5 separate regions of the Homo sapiens genome follow, and all the other regions are linked to region 5. Evidence: promoter capture Hi-C in 16 types of primary human blood cells and fetal thymus (Javierre and others, 2016). All regions are on one chromosome and are shown on one strand. The core of a region is centred on a gene start or on the middle of the fragment in contact, and the rest is flanking DNA. Distances in the headings are between cores, read along the strand shown. Region 1 overlaps NKD1 (NKD inhibitor of Wnt signaling pathway 1). Region 2 has its middle 17 kb from the start of SNX20. Region 3 overlaps CYLD (CYLD lysine 63 deubiquitinase). Region 4 overlaps CYLD (CYLD lysine 63 deubiquitinase). Region 5 holds the start of ADCY7 (adenylate cyclase 7).

Region 1 (2,700 bases), core at 184-2,683, 380 kb after region 5:
GCCTTCCTCCTGGTCTGTAAAGCCCCTGCAGGCAGGGACTTCTTAGATAGCTGCTTCCTTAGGGCATGGCATGTAGTGGGTGGTTAATGAATGGAAGAGAGGGAATGAGTGATCAAGGGAGGGAGGAGGGAGTGGAGTGGAGATTTCTCATCCTTTCCTGTTAATTTATGACATCCTCCTGCCTATGAGTCCTTGACTCTGGAGTTTTACAAAGCAGTCACATTTCAAATAAAAGTCTGGGAAAGCAACACATCATCGCCAACTTTTAATTTTGCTAAATAAGGATATTAGAAAAAGAATAGAAAATTGCAGTCCCTTACTGTTTAAAGAAAAACCAAAAGAAGTTAAAAAGAAAAAAAAAACAACCTCATTATGTTGTCTTTGTTTTTGTTTTGTTTTCTTTCCTTGGAAATCAGTGAAAGTTTGGTCAGCCACACATTGTAGTAGGGCTAGAATTTTTCTTCCCATTTTAGAGACGGGAGACCTGAGACTCCAGGTGGGGGTGTGGAGTCCAAATGGACAGTTCTTCCCAAAGCTGAGCGCAGACCGGCTTGCAGGTCCTTTTTCCAGTCATGGCCTCAGCTGTCTGCAAAGGACTTGGGGGAGGCTGACAGCTCTGATGTCTGGAGAGGGGGCTTCTGCAACCTCCAACACTGGTCAGTAACTCCACAGAGGCCATTGGCGGGGGTGGTCTGCTTGTATCAGCAGGCCTGTCATGGCCAGTTCAATGGTCGGGGCTGAACTATGTCTCTTGGTGCCTGGTAGAGGGGTTGGAGTGGGCCTGAGGCCAACTTGCTCAGAGCCACACTCCCCAGGAAGCTGTGGAGTCTGGAACTCTGCCCTGCCTTCCTGTCCCCTGCCCACTCTAAGCCTCCAGAAGTCAATCCTCTGCTCACCGGGACCGTACCTAGCCTGGCCCATCGATGTGTCATGTTTGACCCATCAAGGGTTTCAAAAATTTTTAATTAATTTCCAAAATCTGAGGGTTTCACCTAAAAACCTGGATGTTTGGCTTTTCTCATAAAAATCAGAAAGTGGGTTTACCCCAGGCTCCTGTTCCCACATGGCTGCAATCCGCCCGCCTCTTCCAATGGTGCACATGCCTTTTTTCCTGCGCCCGGAGCCCCTCTCAGCCTGATTTTGAGGCCTGGCTTTGATGCGATTCAGCTCATGACCCCTGCGCAGCCTCAAGCACCTAAGTTTTGGAGGTCAGTGATGCCACTTAAAAACCTGTTCAGGGCAGAGCGTTAGACAGGAGGATGGCTAAGGGAGCAGCTTCAGGCATGGGAGGACTTTCATGGGGAAGTCTTTGGGGCAGTCCTGGAGACCCTCACAATGTGGCCCCACTCCTCCTTTAGATGGGGCAAGGTGGGCTGGAACCCCCAGCAAAGGGTCCCAGGCTGTGTGAGACCCCGCCCAGCACTCCTTAAACAGCCAAGACAGGTGGAAAGCCCCAACTCAAAAGACTGGCTGGATTGTACCCGGCTCAGTGACTTCCCCTCTTTGAGACTCAGTTTGCTTTTCTGTAAAGTGGACCTAATGAGGCCCGCTTGGCTTCAGCTCCAGGGACTTTGGAGATTTAAGCAAAGCAAGAAATGGGAAAGGAGTTTGTTACATATCAGGCTTCCTGGAGGAATGCCCCCCAGCTCTCTTGGAGGGGGAAGCAAAAAGACTGCTGATCAGGCAGGGGACGGGAACTCCCCGAGTGGCCACATGGGCAGTCTCAGTAGGAGTCTCAGGCCAGGCTCTGTCTGTGGATTCCCACTTCTCTGGGCTGCATCTCACTGTTCAGGCTAGAGTCTGGTCCTTGCCCATCTGCAGGTCCAGGAAGATGTGGCCCCAAATTCTCTGGACCTGATGTCCTAGATCCTGTGCACTTGGCTTCATGGATAGAGTCTGAGAAGGTTGCAGGATCCAGTAGCTGGACCACAGAATGCAGCCTGGGGGTTTGGCTAAGATGAGCAGACTGGCCCATGGTTGAGACTTTGGACCTGAGCTGAGTCCTGGTTCTACTACTTCCTAGATGTGTGACCTGGGACAAGTGACTCACCTCTGTGCCTTGGTGTTTTTCTCTAACATGGGGCTAATTGGGGTAACTACCTTACTGAGCTGTTATGAGTAAATGATCCAGTGGGCGTGAAGCGTTCAGCGCAGAGCCTGGCACGTAATAGGCCCTCGATAAGTAAAACAGCAACAGTAGCTGCAGTTAGGAGAATGTGACCCCAGAAGGCTCATGGGAAAGGAGGTGCAGTCCTGATGGATGAAGGGTACCTGTCCTCCACCCCGGCTGCAGAGCCCCCAGTGAGACAGCTGCTGTGGCATGCTGCCTCTGCTACACACTCAAAAAACACTTGAGGACATGACTTTTCCCTCTCAAGTTTGATGGGATCACTCTGTTCCTTCCAGACCCGACTTGTGGTGTGAACTTGGACAAGCCCCTGCTGTCTCTGGCCTTCAGTACCATATTTGTATTATGAAACTGCCCTTGGCTTGAAGCTAGACTATGGGGGTGGCAGCTCTAAGTCCTACAAACAGTAGGGGTAGTGGTGGGGATGGGCAGCCTGAAAGCCATGCCAGCAGTGCCTTCCTTGGGGAAAGAGGTGGCCTCTGGAGCAATGCTTCGCTACCCTACATCTGGGTCTGTCCTTGCCCAACTCCTAAGCTGCAGGATCGCTGAGGAGTCCACATTGCCATATCTGC
Region 2 (2,700 bases), core at 37-2,536, 400 kb after region 5:
GTGCCTAATAAATATTGACTTTATATTTGCTGCCCCAATTTATTCTTTTATTAACATATTTATATTTTTAAATTTTAACATTTTGTTTTTGTTTTCTGTTGTTTTTTGGTTTGTTTTTTGTTTTTTTGAGACAGAATCTCACTCTGTTGCCCAGGCTGCAGGGCCTTGGCACGATCTCGACTCACTGCAACCTCTGCCTCCTGAGTTCAAGAAATTCTCCTGCTTCAGCCTCTCAGGTAGCTGGGATTACAGGCTCCCACCACTACACCCAGCTAATTTTTGTATTTTTAGTAGAGGCAGGGTTTCACCATGTTGGCCTGGCTGGTCTCAAACTCCTGACTTTAGGTGATCCGTCCGCCTCGGCCTCCCAAAGTGCTGGGATTACAGGCATGAGCCTCCGCACTCGGCCAATTTTAACATTTTTAAATTTTAATTTCTTTTTGTAGAGACAGGGTCTCACTATGTTGGCCAGGCTGGTCTCAAACTCCTGGCCTCAAGTGATCCTCTCACCTCAGCCACCCAAAGTGCCGGGATTACAGGTGTGAGTTGCTGCACCCAGCCTATTAAGATATTCTTATTGTGAAATAGAACACACGGAGAAAAGTGCATAAAAGTGTACAGCTTAACAAATTATTACTAAGCAAATACTTTTACAACCATCACCCTAGAGTAAGAACTGAGACTCCTCACTGTCCCCATCCCAGTCAAAACCTCCTCACCCCCTCGAAGTGATAACCACCATCTCAACTTTTATAGTAACCCTTTCTGCTTTTTTTAATTTCAGGAGTTGTGATGGTTAATTTTATGTCAGCTTAACCGGGCCATGGGATGCCCGGATGTCTGCTTAAACATTATTTCTGGGTATGTCTGCTAGGATAGATTAGCATTGGAGTTGATGCCCTGAGTGTGACAGACGGTCTTCCCCCATGTGAACGGGCATCTTCCAACTCACTGAAGGCCTGTTCGGAACAAAAAAGGCAGAGGACCGTTGGATTTGCCTCCTCTCTGATCGCCAAGCTGGAGCCTGGATCTCCTGCTCTTAGCATTCTTGGTTCCCAGGCCTGCAGACCTGGACTAGAGTCTACACTGTCAGCTCGCTGGCTCTCAGGCCTTCAAACTGCACCACCGGCCTTCCTGGGTCTCCAGCTTGCAGATGGCAGATGCTGGGACTTCTCAGCCGCCATAATTCTAGGAGCTCATCGCTTATACTAAATCTCATTATATGCAAATATATAGACATATACTATATGTCCATATCCATATCTATCTCTGCTCTTGGTTCTTTTTCTCCGGAGAACCCTAGTACAGGAGTTTTGCCATCTAAGCAAGCATGCTTCAGCCCTCTGGTTGAGTCCGACCTGCCCTTGGCCTTCAGGAAATGGAACCACACAGGCTGCATCCGTCTGTGTCTGGCTTCTTTCATGCAGTCTCTTGTGAGGTTCATCCACTTCCTTGTGTCCAAGCATAGCTTGTTTCATAACTGCCTCATGTTCCACATAAGAATACCCCAAGTCCCTTCTCTGTTTTATGGTTCGCAGACACTTGGGTTGTTTCCAGCTGGGGGACAGTATCAGGAGCTGTTCCTGCTGTGCAGTTGTGGTACATGTCTTTTGGTGAGCATGCTTGCCTATCTGTCTATAGGGTATATTCCTAAGGGCGGCATTGCTGGGTACTTACAGGACAGTTTACGTTCAGCTTTGAGGAATGGTGCCAAATGGTTTTCTTAAGTGGTTGTACCATTTATACTCTAACAAGCAGGGAACGTCATTTCTCTTTTCTTTTCCTCCCAGCCTCCTTCCATTTTCCTTTCTTATACTTATTTATCCAACCCACATTACTCACAGTCTCTATAGCCTTGTGTGTCTACTGGTGAATTAAAAGGTCACTAGTGGTGTCCTCTGGGAGTCCTCTTCTCACTCCCCCAGTTCAGTAGGCAGATGGGTGGGGAGTCCCCCACGCCATCTGGGTCCTGAAAAGGTGGGAGATGGGATCTGGGAGGAGCAGGTTATTCAATCTCTCCCCCTGGAAAGCGACGTGGCGCGGGCCTTACTGGGGAAGGGCCTCTCCCCCCAGACCGAGAGAGGCGCAGTTAGGCCCGTTCTCGGAAGCCATGGCCGATCCTGCTCCTGGGGGCGCTGATACTGGCTATTTGCAGCGCCCTCTCTTGTGAAACCCTGCGGATTCCGCTTGCGGGAAGTGGAGGGCGGTGGCCTCCGCCTTTTGGGGCTTCTGGGCTGAGGGAAGAGGATGGAGGGGCAGAAAGGGAGTGAGGTCCCAAACCCCAAGTGGAGGTCGCCCGGGGACCCCCCATCAAAACACTTGCTGGGGAGAGGTTATAGAGGCAGCAAAGCTCTTTCCAGCATGATTTCAAATCCCGTCTAAGGGCTTTCAGAAGCCTGGAGAAAGTTTCGGTTTCCCAGCTGTTTCAGCTTTTTCCGCCCGCACCGCGGCGATGCGTTCGGAGCCGCCGAGGCGGCAGCGCCATCTGCTGTCTACTTTTTAAATTGCAGGATCAGATCCTCTCGGTCTCTCCAGACCTGCCCCGTGGAAAGGGAATAAGATTAAACCAGTAAAAATAGCTTAGATCACCTGAGGTCAGGAATTCGAGACCAGCCTGGCCAACATGGCGAAACCCCGTCTCTACTAAAAAAAGTACAAAAATTAGCCGGGCGTGGTGGCGGGCGCCTGTAATCCCAGCTA
Region 3 (2,700 bases), core at 140-2,639, 480 kb after region 5:
CAGACAAACAAACACAAAAGCTCCTTAAAGTACCGAAGGGAAGTATAGGACAGTATATTCAAGATCGTTCTGTGGGGCATTCAAGGATTCCTTCTGCAAAAGGCAAGAAAAATCAGATTGGATTAAAAATTCTAGAGCAACCTCATGCAGTTCTCTTTGTTGATGAAAAGGATGTTGTAGAGATAAATGAAAAGTTCACAGAGTTACTTTTGGCAATTACCAATTGTGAGGAGAGGTTCAGCCTGTTTAAAAACAGAAACAGACTAAGTAAAGGCCTCCAAATAGACGTGGGCTGTCCTGTGAAAGTACAGCTGAGATCTGGGGAAGAAAAATTTCCTGGAGTTGTACGCTTCAGAGGACCCCTGTTAGCAGAGAGGACAGTCTCCGGAATATTCTTTGGAGTTGAATTGCTGGTAAGTTTGATAAACCATTTTAGTAGTGTGTTTGTTTGTGTTCATGTGTGTCTGTGTATTTGTATGCACATACATATTTTTCTCCTTAAATACGAAATAAATTTTCCCAAGAGTCTTCTGTAATTTTTAATATTCATCATCCTTGCTGATGAATCCATGTTGTGGTTGAATCCATAATCCAAAACTTGCTTATAGTTGTCACTGATAATATGTGTGAAAATCACCTTGGCGTTTATTTCTGTTGGAAAGAGACCCAAGAACTCTGTGATATGTTTCCAAGCTTAATATTCATTCTTGAGAACTTAAATGTCAATTATATTTTGACATTCTTGCAAATAGAATTGTATGCCTTCTTTGCTTCTTGATTTAATTTCTTTTGTTTACTTTTTAATGATGAATTGCGAAGATGTAAAGATGATGTCGAAACTTAAAAAACTATGTACTATGGTAGGAACATACAAAGAGATTCACCTGGCTATTGCAGACATATATATTTTAGAAATTTTAACATTGCCTGTATTAAACATGAACGCTACCAGTTGTAAATAGTTACATAAAAAATTGTTAATTACCTTGCGTTATCATCTATAGGTTTCTTAGTTCTTCTTAATGTATGTTATTAAATAACAATTTAGATATAAGATTTTTGAAAAAAAAGTTGCAGAAATTTAAACTTGCTTATAATTGTCCCCGATAATATATGTGAAAATCCTTAGAATTTATTTCTACCGGAAGGAGACCCAAGAATGCTGTGATATGTTTCCAAACTTAATATTCATTCACAAGAACTGAAATGCCAATTACATTTTGACACTCTTGCCAATAGAATTGCATGTCTTCTTTGCTTCTTGATTTAATTTTTTTTAAAAGCAGTGATTGTAAACAATTAGGAATTTGAATCCCAGTTAAGCCATTTACTAGCTGGGTTGCCAGGTTACTTAACAAAGCTACTTAACTTCTCTCATTCTGCATCCTTACCTGTACAATGGTGTTAATAGTACATGACTTGTAGTGTTTTTGTGGTACATTGATGCAGGATTTAAGCACAGTGACTGACAATAAGTGCTTAATGAATGGAGCTAACATTACTGCTATTTTAAAGTAACATTTTCTTTTTATAACCAAATTAATGTTAGAATCACAACGTGGAATTCAGCCTAGCTTTCTCATGATAGAGTTATGAATTGAAATTATCAGATAATATTATTTCAGCATCAGATACAACTTCTTATTTTTTAAAACACTCTAAATCCAACAGAAACTGCTAATAATTGTATTTCTTATTATATGTATCATTTAGAAATTTTCCAGAGTGATTTTCCTGAAATCCCTAGAGTGAACCCCTTTTCCTATGGATCGTCTTTCTATATCTATTTCTTTCCCTTCTCTCTTAAAAACTAGGAAGAAGGTCGTGGTCAAGGTTTCACTGACGGGGTGTACCAAGGGAAACAGCTTTTTCAGTGTGATGAAGATTGTGGCGTGTTTGTTGCATTGGACAAGCTAGAACTCATAGAAGATGATGACACTGCATTGGAAAGTGATTACGCAGGTCCTGGGGACACAATGCAGGTCGAACTTCCTCCTTTGGAAATAAACTCCAGAGTTTCTTTGAAGGTTGGAGAAACAATAGAATCTGGAACAGTTATATTCTGTGATGTTTTGCCAGGAAAAGAAAGCTTAGGATATTTTGTTGGTGTGGACATGGTAAGAAAATTTTGGATTAAATATCTTTGTGATATATATATTAGTTTATATATATATGTATATATATATATAAACATATATATACACACATATATATACACACATATATATGTATAGTTTATATATATATGTATTAGTTTTAGGACCAATTTACTTGCAAATTGAACACTTTGAATATTTAACATGATCTAATTTGGAGTACTTTAAAGAACATGTTCTAATTTATCTTTGGTAAAGGAGCATTGAAATAGAACAGGGGTCTAGATACAGATTACATTTACTTTTTTTTCCCATTTGAATAAACTAGAATAATGTTCTCTATCTTTAAATTTGCCTTATTGTAGCTGACCAGTAGACAAAACAAAACAAGACAAAACACAATTATATTACTTGAAGTCCTATTTTTCTTTATTTTGAAACAGTTTTTTGGGGTACTCCATTTTTTTGTGATATTCTACACAATTTAATGGCTGATCTGATTTTAATAATTAGTATAATAATCATTTATAGAAAATACCTGAGTAGAGGAAAACCACATTGATTTTGAGGAATAGACAATCAGAATATCTCATAGGATTTCATT
Region 4 (2,700 bases), core at 38-2,537, 500 kb after region 5:
ATTCTTTTCAGAGCAGTTGAATGGCTGGGAAGCTTAGGAAAGAATTCTTTCTAGTCAATTGCTTGTAATAGTTGGCTTCTGAAGGATACCTTTGATTGAAAGATGCAGGAATCTTAAACCTGTTATAAAATTGTTTCTCTCTTATATTTCTGTTCTAAATGGTTAAAAACACTGCTAACATATCTAATTTGACATTATGTTCATGTTCTTGAAGTTGTTATGATGAAGCATATCAATTAGCACCACCCCAAAATTATACATTTCGGTTTTTCTAGTTCAACCTGTGTCTTCTGTTCTAGTTGTGGGGGTTGGGAGTATAATGCTGTTTTTTTGACGATCTCTACGATCAAGATAGTGAACATATCCATCACCCCAAAATATGTCCCTTGGGATCCCTCCCTCTGCCTCTTCCTGTCCTCTCAACCCCCTACATTCAGACAACCACTGGTCTTCTTTACATCAGTATACACTTGTTCACATTTTTAAGGATTTTACAAAAGTGGAATAACTCAGAATGCATTCTTTTTTGTCTGGCTTATTTCACTCGACATAATTATTTTTTATTCATCCATGTTGTCCTTTTTATTGTTGATATGGTTATATTAGTTTCTATATCCATTCACTTGTTGATGGACACTTGAGTTTTTTTCAGTTTTTGGCTATTATGAATAATGCTGCTATGAAAATTTGTGTACGAATCTTTGTATGGACATATGCCTTCATTTCACTTGGGTACTTACCTAGATGTGGAATGGCTGGTAATATCATAGGTGACTGTTAACTTAAATAAAACCCCCAAACCTTCCAAGCTGTGTTTCCAAAGTGGTTGCATTATTTTACATTCCCAGAAGCAGTATATGAGAGATACAGTTCTTCCATATCTTTGCCAACACTTGGTATGATCAGTTTTTTAAATTTTAGTAACATCTAATTGTGGTTTTACTCTGCGCTTCATTGGTGACCAGTGATATCAAACATCTTTCCATGTGCATATTTGTCATCTGTATATCTTCTTTGGTTTAGTATCTGTGAAAGTCTTTGGCCGATTATTAATTGTTTCTTTATGATTGGGTTTTGAGAGTTATTTATAAATTTTGAATACAAACCCTTTTGCAGATATATGCTTTACAGCATTTCAGATTATTATAGATTCACATGCAGAGAGAGGGACCCTGTGTGCCCTTTAGCCAATTTTTCCCAGCGGTAACATTAACATGTTGTAAAACAAGACGTGTGCAACATCACAACCAGAATGTTGACCCTGATACAATCAAGAAGCAGAACATTCCCATCCCACAAAGATCTCTTATCTTGCCCTTTTACTGCCGCACAAATTCCCTCTTCCTCCTGCCCCATCCTTAACCTCTGACAACCACTCATCTGCTGTCGATTTCTGTAATTCAGTCATTTCAAGAATGTTACATAAATGGAGTTGTACAGTATGTAACCTTTTGAGACTGGCTCTTTTTTCACTGAGCATAATTCTCTGGAGATTTATCTACATTATTTTATATATATCCATGGATTGTTCCTGTTTATTCCTGAGTAATATTCCATATTATGGATGTATCAGTTTGTTTAACTGTTTAGCTGTTGAAGGACATCTGGTTTGTTTCCAGTTTTTGGCTATTATGAATAATGCTTTTATAAATATTTGTGTGTAGTTTCCTGAGTGCACATAAATCTTTATTTCTTGACATAATTGTCCAAGTGCGTATTCGGTGATATTTGCAAATTTAGTTTCTTAAGAAACCGCTAAACTGTTTTCCAGAGTGACTGTACTCTTACTTTACCACTGGCAATATATGGGTAATCTGGTTTCTCTGTATCCTTTCCAGCATTTGATGTTGTCCCTATTTTTAATTTTAGCCATTCAGAGAGATTTGTAGTTGTATTTCACTGTGATTTTGATTTGAATTTACCTGATGGCTGCTGATGTTGAACATCGTTCCGTGTACTCACTGTCATCTGTATATATTCTTTTTCTTTCTTTCTTTTTTTTTTTTTTGAGATGGAGTCTTGCTCTGTTCACCCAGGCTGGAGTATAGTGGCGTGATCTCGGCTCACTGTAACCTCCACCTCCTGGGTTCAAGTGATTCTCCTGCCTCAGCCTCCCAAGTAGCTGGGATTACAGGTGTGCGCCCCCGAGCCCAGCTAATTTTTGTGTTCTTAGTAGAGAGAGGGTTTCACCATGTTGGCCAGGCTGGTCTCGAACTCCTGACCTCAAGTGATCCACCTGCCTCGGCTTCCCAAAGTGCTGGGATTACAGGCATGAGCCCCTGCACCCAGCCTTCGTATATATTCTTGAGTGAAAGGTGTCCTCATCTCTTTTGCCCAGGTTCTCATTGGATCCTGTGCTTTTTTACTGTTGAGTTTTGAGAAGTCTTTATGTATTCTAGATACTAATTCTTTGTTCAATATATGGTTTGCACATTTTATTTCCCAATGTGTAGCTTGTCTTTTCATCCTCTTAATAGGGTCTTTCACAGAGTACAAGATTTTTATTTTTATGAAGTCCAATTTATAGTTTTTCTTGTGTGGGTCAAGCTTTTGTGTCAAGTTCGACAACTTTTGTTTAGCTCTACATATGGAAGATTTTCTCCTAAGTTTTTAAAAATTGAAATGTAATATGTTGTGCAACCCTCACCACTATCCAGTTCCAGAACATTTTCATGGGAACCCAGTACCCATTAAGCAGTT
Region 5 (2,700 bases), core at 63-2,562:
GATGTCTGTTCCTTCTCTGCTCTGGGACATTTGCTAGGGAGACATTTGCTGATAGGAGGGCGACCCTGATGGGGAGGATCCCCTGAGGTCTCCCACTCCCTCCTGTGGCCTCTGGAGCAGCCTGGAACCCTGTGTGAGTCCTATGCCTGTCTCCACCAGATGGCAGACCTTAGATCACCTGCTAGTTCCCTGCATGGGGCCTGGCACAGAGACAGCACCTAACATGTTCAGTTCCTCCTGATCAGTATGTGTGGGATGTCTACTCTGTGACCAGCTGGGGCTGGACGCTGGGGACACAGCTGTTGATATTACAGCTGCCCTCCCATCTCTGCCCTCCTCAAGGATATAACCTAGGAAAGACAGACCAGCAACCAGTGGTCACAGCACAGAGGTGCTGTGATGGAGGAAGGTGCAGGGGTTAGAAGACCAGAAGAGGGGTGTCTGACCCTGGATGTGGGAGGTGGAGGAGGTACACCATTGCTTTGAGGAGCTCGTAATCCCAGGATGCCAGTCACATGCTCAGAAGGGCTCCCTGAGGACCAGGTGCTGCTGTGGCCAGCGGGCTGGAGGCCTCCCCCTCTGTTTTGGGAGTCTCCACTCTCTCCTCTTAGCCTCTCCTGATCTGCTCCCTCGCCACTGAGCGCCCCATGATCCCAGTGGGGAAACTGAGGCCTGGCATAGCAGAAGGGGTGCTGGGGTTTGATTCCCAGCCTCATGGTGCCCAGGGATGTTGGGGGCTCTCCAGGGACTCTGATTTTGGAATAGGAGCCCCAAGGATGGGCCTGCCCCTGCCCTGCTCCCAGCATGGGAGCGTAGGTGAGATGGAGAGGCAGTGGGCTGGGCTGGAAGATCTTTGACCTCTCCTGGGCCCCTCTCAGAGGTGGACGGGGCCACCTTACTACATAGATAGGGAAATTGAGTCCCAGGAAGGCGCGGGGGGCCTGTCTGTGAGCGTCAGAGCCCACAGGAGGCTCAGGCCAGGCCGCTAATTGCTAATTGCTCACTAAGGATGCATTTGCTCCCCACTTTGAACAGTTGTCTTGGGGCTTCTAATGGAGGTTTTTGGTGCTTGTTTTATTATTATTTTTTCAAAATTGTTCCAGCTTCAAGCTTCAAATTTCCATGAAGTCATTGGAGCCCGACAGCTCCCAGGCCTGGCAGCTCCCAGGCTGCGGAGAGCAGCACTGTGGCTGGGGGAGGGGGCCCTGCACACCCCGAGAGGCTGGGCTGTGGGCTGTGCCTTAGCCTTGCTGCCGCCGCCGCCGCTGCTGCCGCTGCCGGAGCAGGAAGTGGTGGGTCCCAGATGTGACTCACTCTCATTAGGTAGCGTGGAAGGAGCCTTCGGATGGGTGAGCCTGGGCGCGTCTGAGGAAGGGCAGGCGGGGGCCGGGCCACCTCCCTGCAGACCCTGGCCGGCTGCTGGGGCCGGGGAGGAGAGCCAGGTAAAAGTGGGGTGTGGGGATGGAGTGTCACCAGTCCTAGTGGCTTGAGCCCCAGGGGACGGGGCTGGACAGTGGGTGGGAAGCAGCTCACCCGGCAGCCTGGCCTGGGAGTGCACTGGGCAGGGTCTGGGCTGGGGGAGTAGGAGGCTCCGTGAGCCTACTGGGCAGATGGCTGGGAGAGGCGGCCCTTCAACAGGGGACCAGAGGCGACTTGTCACTGGCTTTTCCCAGCCTGACAAGAAAGTGCGGTTGTGACCACAATGTTGTACATGTGGCCCGTTCCATCTGGAATTCTAGGAACCACAGACTCTCAAATGTCCACACTCCTTCTCGAGGGTGTAATTTTACATTTACAAGCACACATGACTTTTCTCAATGAAAGGAAACATTGGCAAGGGAAGGCCAATTCAACTAATTTTATGAAATTATAAAACAAAAAACAAACAAAACCTCTGAAAGGAGTGCATGCCTGAGGGTCAGGAAACCAAGATGCCTCCAAAAAGCAGACTGGTTTCCCTTTCCCTGCAATGCCTCTCCTCTATCCCCCAGGGACCGCATGGGCCATCTGGAGTGGGTCTTTCTGGAGCGGGTCTTTCTGGAGCTTTCTATGCATTCATCTAAACATGTATGTACAGAGGGTGAGGCAGTTGCCTCTTCTCTGTGTCATCACATCAGGGTCAAGGGCAGGGACATCTGTGGCTGGGGGCTTCCTCCCTGGACAGCCATTGCTGGAGAGGAGAAGGGAGGGCCGGGAGGGGGAAGCCAAGGGCCTGGAGGTAGGGGCCAGGCCGAGCCACCTACGACAGGGGCCCTGGGTCCAAGGCCTGGACGGGCAGCCAGTGTGGGCTGGATGTGTCTGGAAGGGCTATGTGACCGTGGGCCTTCACTAGCATCACCATCTTGCAGATGGAGGCTGTGAGGGGTGGACTCAACACCAGTGTTTCTCGGAGTGAGGACCGGGCTGCCCAGGGAATCACAGGGGGTTCTAGCCTGTGTGTGGAAGGACATGTTTAAAATCTAAGTATTTGTCTTGGGGAAAAAAAAATCTGTAAATAGGACATTGCCATTGTGACATCATGACTGTATTATTGTCTTAGACGAGGCCAAAGGAGACATAAAAGTGACAAGCCAGCCAATTTGAGAGGAAGTGCCAAGTGCCAGCCCTGCAGGAAGTGCAGGAGGCTGAGGGGGCTGCAGCTCAGGAAGGCGTTTGCTGCACAGCCTTCGCTTCCCACCCAGTTGTCTGTCTTCCCACCTC

What was found. Contacts are between HindIII fragments. The CHiCAGO score rates a contact against its expected background, and 5 or more counts as called.
Region 1: a contact is called between a fragment that was not itself captured here and the fragment with the promoter of ADCY7 in region 5, in 2 of 17 cell types (activated CD4 T cells and naive CD4 T cells). The highest score is 5.5, in activated CD4 T cells.
Region 2: a fragment that was not itself captured here is called in contact with the fragment with the promoter of ADCY7 in region 5 in 1 of 17 cell types (naive CD4 T cells); the score reaches 5.3 in naive CD4 T cells.
Region 3: a fragment that was not itself captured here is called in contact with the fragment with the promoter of ADCY7 in region 5 in 4 of 17 cell types (naive CD4 T cells, non-activated CD4 T cells, total CD4 T cells and 1 more); the score reaches 9.9 in naive CD4 T cells.
Region 4: a contact is called between a fragment that was not itself captured here and the fragment with the promoter of ADCY7 in region 5, in 1 of 17 cell types (total CD4 T cells). The highest score is 6.9, in total CD4 T cells.

What each region holds. Positions count from the first base shown.
Region 1 is chr16:50,640,492-50,643,191 of GRCh38, forward strand. NKD1 (NKD inhibitor of Wnt signaling pathway 1) reads left to right here. Exons shown (of 10, transcript NM_033119.5): 10 at 1-2,700. Among named protein-coding and RNA genes, the nearest start is that of NKD1-AS1, 28 kb to the left of the region's middle. The HindIII fragment of the contact is 3,833 bases long and covers 1-2,700 here.
Region 2 is chr16:50,663,072-50,665,771 of GRCh38, forward strand. No RefSeq gene overlaps it. Among named protein-coding and RNA genes, the nearest start is that of SNX20, 17 kb to the right of the region's middle. RefSeq lists an enhancer at 2,145-2,646 and a silencer at 2,482-2,571. The HindIII fragment of the contact is 9,909 bases long and covers 1-2,700 here.
Region 3 is chr16:50,749,790-50,752,489 of GRCh38, forward strand. CYLD (CYLD lysine 63 deubiquitinase) reads left to right here. Exons shown (of 19, transcript NM_001378743.1): 3 at 1-413; 4 at 1,815-2,117. Among named protein-coding and RNA genes, the nearest start is that of CYLD-AS1, 8.4 kb to the left of the region's middle. The HindIII fragment of the contact is 1,396 bases long and covers 692-2,087 here.
Region 4 is chr16:50,768,460-50,771,159 of GRCh38, forward strand. All of the region lies in intron 5 of CYLD (CYLD lysine 63 deubiquitinase), which reads left to right. Among named protein-coding and RNA genes, the nearest start is that of CYLD-AS1, 27 kb to the left of the region's middle. The HindIII fragment of the contact is 2,515 bases long and covers 31-2,545 here.
Region 5 is chr16:50,265,239-50,267,938 of GRCh38, forward strand. ADCY7 (adenylate cyclase 7) reads left to right here and starts at 1,313. Exons shown (of 26, transcript NM_001114.5): 1 at 1,313-1,442. RefSeq lists enhancers at 457-1,050, 996-1,085. The HindIII fragment of the contact is 14,845 bases long and covers 1,109-2,700 here.